Regions from separate parts of the Homo sapiens genome. Here region 1 is linked to region 2. Evidence: promoter capture Hi-C in 16 types of primary human blood cells and fetal thymus (Javierre and others, 2016). All regions are on one chromosome and are shown on one strand. Each heading gives the region's core, a stretch centred on a gene start or on the middle of the fragment in contact. The rest is flanking DNA. Distances are from core to core; before and after follow the strand shown.

What was found. The method cuts DNA at HindIII sites, captures the fragments that hold promoters and counts their contacts. A CHiCAGO score of 5 or more calls a contact.
Region 1: a contact is called between a fragment that was not itself captured here and the fragment with the promoter of MAP2K4 in region 2, in 6 of 17 cell types (activated CD4 T cells, naive CD8 T cells, total CD8 T cells and 3 more). The highest score is 9.0, in activated CD4 T cells.

The regions. Positions count from the first base shown.
Region 1 is chr17:12,057,672-12,062,536 of GRCh38, reverse strand. All of the region lies in intron 2 of MAP2K4 (mitogen-activated protein kinase kinase 4), which reads right to left. Among named protein-coding and RNA genes, the nearest start is that of MIR744, 22 kb to the left of the region's middle. The HindIII fragment of the contact is 3,297 bases long and covers 1,240-4,536 here.
Region 2 is chr17:12,018,361-12,022,779 of GRCh38, reverse strand. It overlaps MAP2K4 (mitogen-activated protein kinase kinase 4), which reads right to left and starts at 1,903. Exons shown (of 11, transcript NM_003010.4): 1 at 1,779-1,903. The coding sequence starts at 1,893. It also overlaps a transcript of ZNF18 not described here. RefSeq lists a silencer at 1,187-2,066 and an enhancer at 1,603-2,103. The HindIII fragment of the contact is 6,257 bases long and covers 248-4,419 here.

The DNA of each region.
Region 1 (4,865 bases), core at 1,639-4,138, 39 kb before region 2:
AGCAAGACCCTGTCCTCTACAAAATAATTTAAAAATGAGCCAGGGATGGTGGCACATGCCTATAGTGCCAGCTACTCAGAAGGCTAAGGTAGGAGAATCACTTGAGTCCAGTGGTTCAAGACTGCAGCGAGCTATGATAGCACCATTTACTCCAGCCAGGGCAACAGAGCAAGATCCTGTCTGAAAAAAGACAAAGGCATATTCAGGCATACAAACACCCAAAAAGCTTGAGAAATAATTAAAAACTACTAAGAAAGAATTCTTATCTCAGGAAGACTTAGAATATATACTCTACCAAAATGAGAGTGGGAAAGTGAAAAATAAAAAAAGATGAAATCCCGGAAACAGATAATCAGAATCAGGCATTCACAAAACAATGGCAACAGCCCTGTGAAGCAGACCTCAAGTGCAACCACTCCAGATTAAAGCAAGAGTATGGATGGATAGCTAACTCAAAAAAAGAAAAAAAGGGGGGGGAGAGGGGGAGAACTGAGTGACCAACTGATGTATTTAACTATGTTGAGAGAAGATTCACAGTGAACCATATATGAGGCAGTTATTAACTCTGGGGAAAACAAATTTGCTCAAGAACAATAATATAATCATACTGTTACTCAGTTGTAGATAATTTAAAAAAAAACACACTGAAAAAAGTTACCTTCATATAGCAAATTTCCTTAATAATAGATAAAAGTTTCCAGAAACATACATACTGCAAAGATAAAAGGCCTTATAATATTCTGATTGAAATCAGAACTCAAAAACATAACTGCCTGATTAGAAATGGTTGGAAAACTCATCAATAGCTAAGAAGTCAGATGTATCTTCAAGGAGCAGCACTTAGAAGTACTGTGGGTTAAAAAACCAGGGCTATCTTCTAATGTCTGCCTCAGTCTCTGATTCAAGAACAAAGATGATTTATAACACCAAAAGCACACAACTCAACAGCATGTATCATTAATCTATGCAAATACATATTCCAGAATTAGCATCCACCACCTCAGCTATAAACATCCAGCTTGAAGGGAATGTGAATCTCAAGGGGGTAGGGGCCCACAAAGAAAATCAGTTCTACCACTCCTATTACCACTGCCACCTCTGTCGAGAATCACTTCTCCAGTGAATTGCTGACTTATGGAAGTGTACCACAGCCTCAGGTACACTGAGGTGGAATGTGGGACTAAAGATAAGACTGAATATCCCTAAACTGTAACATTAAGAAGTACAATGATCTAAGCTTTAAAGATTATCCCAAACACAGCATCATTATTTACTAGAGCCAAAAGGTACAAACAACCCAAATGTCCAACAACAGATGAATGGCTAAACAAAATGCTGCATACACATAACAATAAAATAATATTTATTCACCCTTAAAAAGAAGGGTGGAGAAAGATACATTCTACAACATGAATGAACCTTGAAGACATTATTTTGAATGAGATAAGCTAGACACAAAATAAATATTGTTATGATTCCACTTATGAGAGGTACCTAAAAAGTAGTTAGATTCATAGAGACAGAAAGTAGAATGGTGGGCGCCAGGGCTAGAAGGAAGGGAGAATAAGGACTTATTGCTTAACGGGTACAGAAGTTCGATCTGAGAAGATGAAAAAGTTCTAGAGATGGATGATGGTGACAAATGTACAACAATGTGAACACAATTAATCCCAATGAACTGTATACTTAAAATGGTTAAGATAAAAATTTTTACGTTATGTATATTTACTACAGTAAGAAAAAAGATTCGCAGCAGTAGCACCAAACCAGCCACACACACACACGCGCGCACACACACACACACACACCCCATAGTATTTAACACATTTGAGATTAAACATCATCTATTAATACATACCCATAAATACTTCTACCATTACCGCTATTTTGTAAAAGTGGTCCACCACAGAAATGCAGAGATTTCACAGTATCATGATTGCTTCAAAAAATTTCAGAGACAGAAAAAAACTTCCAAATTCATGTAGATTAGAGGTATTCACACTTAGAAATCCACCAGAGATGTCCTGGGACTATTCTGGGGAATGAAGGCAGACAACGCTACAAAACTCTCTCCCACCTCACAAACACTTCAGTCAGCACAGTTCCTCCTTTATCTTTTTAGCCTATCAGTTTTGTACATGAGACTTTATTTAAAGAAGGCAGTGCAAGGCTGGCTTAATTCTCTCCCCTTCCTATTCATTATATAAAATAGTGTATGTCGCTATTCTAATTCAATGCCTAAATTGAGAGCAGAATTAAGTGATAAAGTCAAGGACACAGAGATAACGACAACACCAGGATAGAAATCCAGACTCCTAAATTTCTACCCATTGTTATTTCTTTTTAAAAACAATTTTTTTTTTTTTTAATAGAGACAGAGTCTCAACTCTTACACAGGCTGGAGTGCAGTGGTACACTGTAGCCTCAACCTCCAGGGCTCAACTGACCCTTCTACCTCAGCCTCCCAAGTAGCTGGGACCACAGGCGCACACCATCACACGTGGCTAATTTTTTCTATTTTTGTAGAAATGGGGTTTTGCCATGTTGCCCAGCCTGGTCTCGAACTTCTTGGCTCAAGCAATCCTCCTGCCTCGACCTCCCAAAGTGCTGGGATTGCAGGCGTGAGCAACTGTGCCCGGCCTCGTCATTAATTCTAAGACAGCAACGTTTATAAGACACAGTTCTCACAATTTAACCAAGAGAAGAAGAAATTCTAAGTTTTAAGATAAAGTTCTACTGAGAAGGCTCATCAAGAAATACGAGGAATATTAGTTATTAACTAGGGACTTTGAAACCTCTTTAAACTACTCCTAGATGTTCTATAGCACAACTGAGTCTCTGTCTGTTCCAATGTAATAAACAAAGATAAGGGAAATCCTAGAGATCCTCTGGTCTAAAGAGAGCACTTTAAACTTAAAACGTGTGGTTCCAAAACTCTTAAGCCCCAAAATGTTATCTGCATCCACCACTATTTATTTCCAGTGTTAACTTTTAAGCTAGTGTTTTTTCTTGACAATTGTGATATGTTATGAAGATAAAAGGGATGTTCTTTCAGAATAACAATTGTACTGAATATATTCTAAACGACTCAGTACACTGAGAGCACTCAACCATAACTCACTATCATGAAAACACAGAATGTTTAACAGAATATCTACTTCTGTTTGTCAAATTCATATACACAACATGATTTTAACACAAGCTGGCCACATTTATAAGAATATCCCTAGAGTATCAAAAAGATTTATAGTGTTTAGTAGAATCCAAACCTGATGAAAATTTAAAAGGTAGCCACACATTTTTCCTTTGCTTTTTCTTTGTACTCTTTGGCTATCCAGTTTAATCTTTCATTTTAAAAGCCAAGGGAAAAAATGTTAGTGGGTACAAGAGTCTCTATTATAATATGCATTTTCTGTCAAAAATATTTCTAATTTTAATCATTGATAATTAAAAATCAAGGTTTCCTGTTCAGGTTGTCTCCTCATCCTCCAAGATCCCCCCAAAAATCCTTTTTTTAAGGAAATAAGCAATAAATTAAAAGAATTAAATTTCTGAATGCCTGAGTAGATAAAAATGTATCACAAAGAAAAACTAATCGATTTCAAGAGAAGGAACTCTAGTTTAAAAGACTGATCAGCTAACTGCATAGAATGCAGGACCTTGTATAGACCTCACTTCAAACTATTAAAAATAAAAAAACTAATGAGGTCATCTGCTTATTTGATGATATTAAAGATTTATTCTACTAGATGTAGCAATGGTACTATGATTATGTCTTTTAAAAGCAGCTCTTATCTTTTATAAATGCATACTAAAATATTTGTAGATTGCATAACATCTGAGATTTGGTTAAAACTAAGGGGTTGAAGGAAAAGATAAAACAACATTGGCCATGCTATTAACTGTTGAAGCTGTTAAAGCTGATTGACAGTAAAGACAGATTCATCTACCACTTTACTTTTGGGTAGGTATGCAATTTTCCATAATAAAAGGTTTAAAAATAAACAGAAAAAACTATAACCTATAACACATGGTAGGAGGCAGGCATGCAGTGAATATGAGGGACAAATCATGGTCCCAATAGAACACTGGATCAGAGAGAATTCATGGTCAGAAGAAATGAAGGCCTAGAAACCAGAGTTAATTAAACTTCTTTCTATAAGGAAGTTCTAGGCCAGGCGCAGTACCTCATGCCTGTAATCCCAGCACTCTGGGAGGCTGAGGCGGGAGGATCCCTGGAATCCAGGAGTTCAAGACCAGCCTGGGCAATATAGTGAGACCCTGCCACTTAAAAAAAAAAAAAAAAAAAGAAAGGTCTAGTTAATTCCACTTTTCCTCTTTATTCTTCCCCTAAAATAAAAAGGGGGCATGTCTTCAAAGAGAACAAACACATCTGGAGAGAACCAGGCTTCCTAAGGTGAATTTTGGCTCTACTAATTCTAGCATTGGTAATATTCCTGGCCTAAGAGCTAGCTCTCAAAATACTCACAGAAAAGTAAAGCCAAGCCCACCAGGTGATGATCTATAACCAAAGCTTCCATTCAAGAAACAATCAAGAACAAGACATGAAAAAAAAATTATAAGATGTAAAAAAAAACTGAGAAAGAGGTAAAAGAAAAACTGATCCTTGAGGAAATCAATAATTCAAACAACAGAAAAGAATTTTTAAATTCCCTATTTTGTATCCAAAATTAAGAATAGAATCCTAAGAAAATGCCACAATCAACTCTTGGAAATTAAAACTGATTGCCAAGATTCCATTTAGGGGATGGAAAATAAAGAAAATCTCCCAGGATACAGAGTAAGAAAACAATGAGACGGAACACATTTTTTTTTAGAGTCTAGGATACAGGGGATATAGGCAG
Region 2 (4,419 bases), core at 654-3,153:
TTACTTTTCCAACTAGTAATTTTTCATGTTTAGCTAAATAGCCTTCCCTCCCCCATCTTCACAGGGGGATAACCTCCATGAGGACAGTTAGAGATGTTCAATTCTCTATAAACTCAGCATGAGCGTTTTATGCAGATGCTCAATAAATATTTTTTGAACCAAAAAAACACACTGTATCCAGCTATTTCAAACTGTCAGCCTCCCCACCAATAAAACAAACAAACAAATCACCTTGTTTTTATAAGCTTTGTAAGTCACCCATCTGGAACAAGAAATACAATCCTAAATTGTCATTTTGCCATTTCATTTCGCCCCAACCACCACCACCTAAATTGTAAAGCTGTACAGTCAGGAAGTCAATCTTATACTTCATCAGTATAATGTGCTGTGCAACACAGTGGGCATCCAATAACTAATTCAATTTGAATGAATTATCTGAGGGCCTGCACAGAAAGTGTCCTCTAAGCTCTGACATCATCCTGTCTATATATCTATCACTGGTTTTTATGTATATTAAAATTATTTCATGGGGAGGGTGACAGGGATGTAAAGATAAATAAAATCCTGTCTCTTCTTTCTGAATTATGGCATGCTCTATAAACATGAACTATTCAATAAATGTCTGTTGAACCTAACTAAATGCTAGAAGCCCTTTAAGAGGAATGGAATCAAAAAGTAACCATGGTCACACTGACTACCAAGGGTACCCCAACCCTTATTCTGTTAATAATTCAACACAAGCAGTTTGCTAAAGTTGTCAAGAGAGTTCTGAGATTCCCTGTTTTAAAAATAGCATTACTACTCAAAATTCCCCAGTAAATTTAAGGAAATGGTCCCTAACAGGCTCGGGCCTGGCCTGGTATTTTCACAACACCCCCTGTCAAAAGCCATACACAGCTAATAAGCATTCCCAGTGGGGAAAGTCATTAATTAGCAGAGCTGCCTCAAATGTCCAGACACTACAGTATCACTTTGACCCCTGTCTATTTCCTGTATCTCTCCATTTAAACCAAATTAAGTCTTCTTTTTTTTTTTTTTTTTTTTTCTTCCTGCACGCAATGCTAACACAGAAATCCCTGGCCTGGAACAAAATGCCTCTCCCAGGCCAATGCAGCCTACCTACCTTACAGGTGGCACAGGCCTGGGCAACCCGCCCCCCACCCCCATCCCTTCCAGCGCACAGAAACCCTGCAAAAGTTTGAAAACGCAGGTTCCAAGAGGCCCCCGTAGCCCGAGGTCAGCTCGGTGGTCCGGCTCCAGCTGTGCCCGGCGACAGCCAAGATGGCCCTGAGCGGGGCCCACTGCGGCGGCGGGGCCGAGGGGCGCCGGCCGGGGCCGCTGTCTTCGCCGCCTACCTGAGCGGCGTCAGGGACCAGGGGGCAGGCCCGACGCCCCTCCCGCTCCGCCGCAGCCCCGAGCCGGCGCGTTCCCGGAAACGGGGGCCGGGCGGGCGCCAGGTAAGCGGCGGGGGCGATGGGGACGGCCGCGGGGGCGGTCCCGGACCAGGTGGGCCCTGCGGGCCTGCTGAGAGCCCGGTAGGGCCCAGGGGCCAAGCGCAGGCAGAGGCCGCGGCCGGGGCCTATGCGGGCCGGAGCCCGGATCCAAGCCGGGCCGGAGGCGGCCGGGAGCGGGGCGGGAAGCCGGGGAGGGAGAGAGGGAGAAGCCGGCGGCTGCCGTGGCTTCCTCAGCCGGGTCCGGGGGCGTCCGCTGGGGCAGGCCGCGACGACGCGGGTTGCCGCGCTAGGGGGCTGGGATCTCGGCGCGGCCGCGTTCCTTACCCTGCATGCTGCTGACGGCCGGGTGGCCTGGCGCCGGGGACCCTACGGGGCCGGGGGTGCCGCTGCCGCTGCCGCCCCCGGAGCCGCCGCCGCCGCTCGGGCTCGGAGCCGCCATTGTTGGGAGTGAAGAGCCGAGCGGCGCCGCGGCGGCTGCAATGCAGCAAGCTCGGCCTCTCGCACGGCCGAGGGGCGAGGCTTACCCCCGCCTTGGCCCCGCCTCCGACACGCCCCGGACACGCCTCCTGACACGCCCCCGCCAGAGCCCGACGCGCAGCCCGGGCCAGATGCTGAGCTGCAGAACCGCCCGGCTCTGGGTGCGCGACCTGTGAAGCAGACAGCTGTCTTGGACCAGGGCTGCGGGCCCGCGGGGCCTAAAGTGGTTTGCAGAATTAAAGGTGGGCCTGCATTTGTGCGGAAAGAAGGTACGCAGCTTTCATCATTCCCATGGAGGTCTGTGACTCCCAAAAGTCCACTTTGTTGGAATCTCAGAACCCCAAATCAGAATAGTAAAGCTGAAAAGGATCCCAGGGATCCCTTTCTCCTCCAGTCGCTAACACATCACTTCCAGAAGGGAGTTACCTAGAGCTATGGTTACAGTCTGGAACTCCTCTTAAGCCCAATACCCCAACCCTCTACACTTCTCTGAGGGGAAAGGGGAGTCCCAAGGGGAACTAACCAAAGTGCTGTCCATGGACCCATCCCAAAACTACTGAATTAGAGGTTACATTTTAATAATACCACCAGGTAATTTGTATGCCCATTAAATTTGAGAAGCATATATTTAAGCACTCGACACTTCCCAGCCTCCTGAAATATGCTATCTACATCACCATCTTCCCCTAAATGCACACTGGATTCCCTCTCCCAAATCCTTTACATCTTGTATAAGACGAGCCGTAGTCATTATTGTAAGTTACATAAAATGACAACCCCAAAAAACAATATGAGGTTTCTTCCATTGCTTTGCACAGAGACTTTTATTTTAGGAAGACAGTAGCTAAAAGAAGAAAAAGTTCTCTATGAGGCTACGATTTGTAAGCCAACCATAATGTACTCGAAATGGTAAGACATGGGTTTCTGGCCAGGCAGCCTTGCCTAAAATGGAATAGCCAGTTATCCTACTTCCCAAAGAATCTAAGCCATGGAGCTGGACATTTTCTCCCATTTAGAAGCATTGTGTGATCTACAGCTAGACTTCTTTCCCAAAACTTCTTCCACCCAGATGTTATTTGATGCTGAGAGTTCTTCACAGCATGTTGGAAATGTGTCCTGGGTCAAAATAGCCCTGCCTTCTTGTTCCAAACCCAATTTCATCCATCATCTTGATGGCTCAGATCCTAAAAGTGGCTAGCCGTAAACATCAAGTGGAGAGGCATTAAAGGCAAATTGAAGGTGAGAGCAGGTAGGTGTACTTCAGTGGAGAGCCCGCCAGAATTCTCCTCCATGGGCCTCGTTGGCTGCCCAATATCTTCAAGTCCAGGTCTTATAAACATGGCCAGATTCCCATCTGGAAATCAGTAGCCCACCCAGCTCTTGTTGCTCCTAGGGCATCTTAATTATGAGCCATCATAACTGGCCTTTAATAAGAATTTAATATATATTCTTTTAATAGAAATCCTAGAAGCAGCACTACAGATTAGGCAACTACTAGAAAATTAATTTAAACACACACACACACACACACACACACACACACACACACACACATCCAATATTATAAATAACATATATTAAAGAAGGCTGGGGATGTTGGCTCACACCTGTAATCCCAGCACTTTGGGAGGCCAAGGCGGGTGGATTACGTGAGGTCAGGAGTTAGTGACCAGCCTGGCCAACGTGGTGAAACCCTGTCTCTACTAAAAATACAGAAAAAAACAAAAATTAGCCGGTGTGGTGGCAGGTACCTATAATCCCAGCTACTAGGGAGGCTGAGGCAGGAGAATCGCTTGAACCTGGGAGGCAGAGGTTGCAGTGAGCCGAGATTGTGCCACTGCACTCCAGCCTGGGTGACAGAGCAAGACTCCATCTATTAAAAAAAATATGTATATATATAGTTATATTTATATATATATAGGAAAACCTTCAACCTAGCAAATTCATTAAGGGAAATTGGGAAACTGAATTAAAAGAGAAATACAATAAAAATATAACTAATCTTATTTTTAAGAATACCTAATTCTGAGTTTGTGATAAAACTGACATATACTTGCATTGCTGTTGGTATTGTAAACTAGTAAGAGCCAATAATTAGATGTGCATATGGCAAAAACAAGAAAGCACTTTGATTTGTTCCAACTGAGGAAGCTATGTATGAGCTTTTTAACTTTTTCTTATGCTCACATTTCTCTTACATATTTGTGTTTTATGATTTCTTATGGACTAAATTGTATTCTGCTCCCTCACCAAATTTACATGTTGGAGTCCTAACCCCCAGCATCTCAGAATGGGACTATATTTGGAAATAGGGTCTTTAAAGTAAAATGAGGTCATACGAGTGGGCCCTAATCCAATAGGACTGGTGTCTTTATAAAGAGATTAGGATGCAGACACACAGAGCTAGGAGAAGATGATCATCTACAAGCCACAGAGTGTGTCCTCAAAAGACACCAACTCTGCCTACACCTTGGACTTCCAGCCTCCA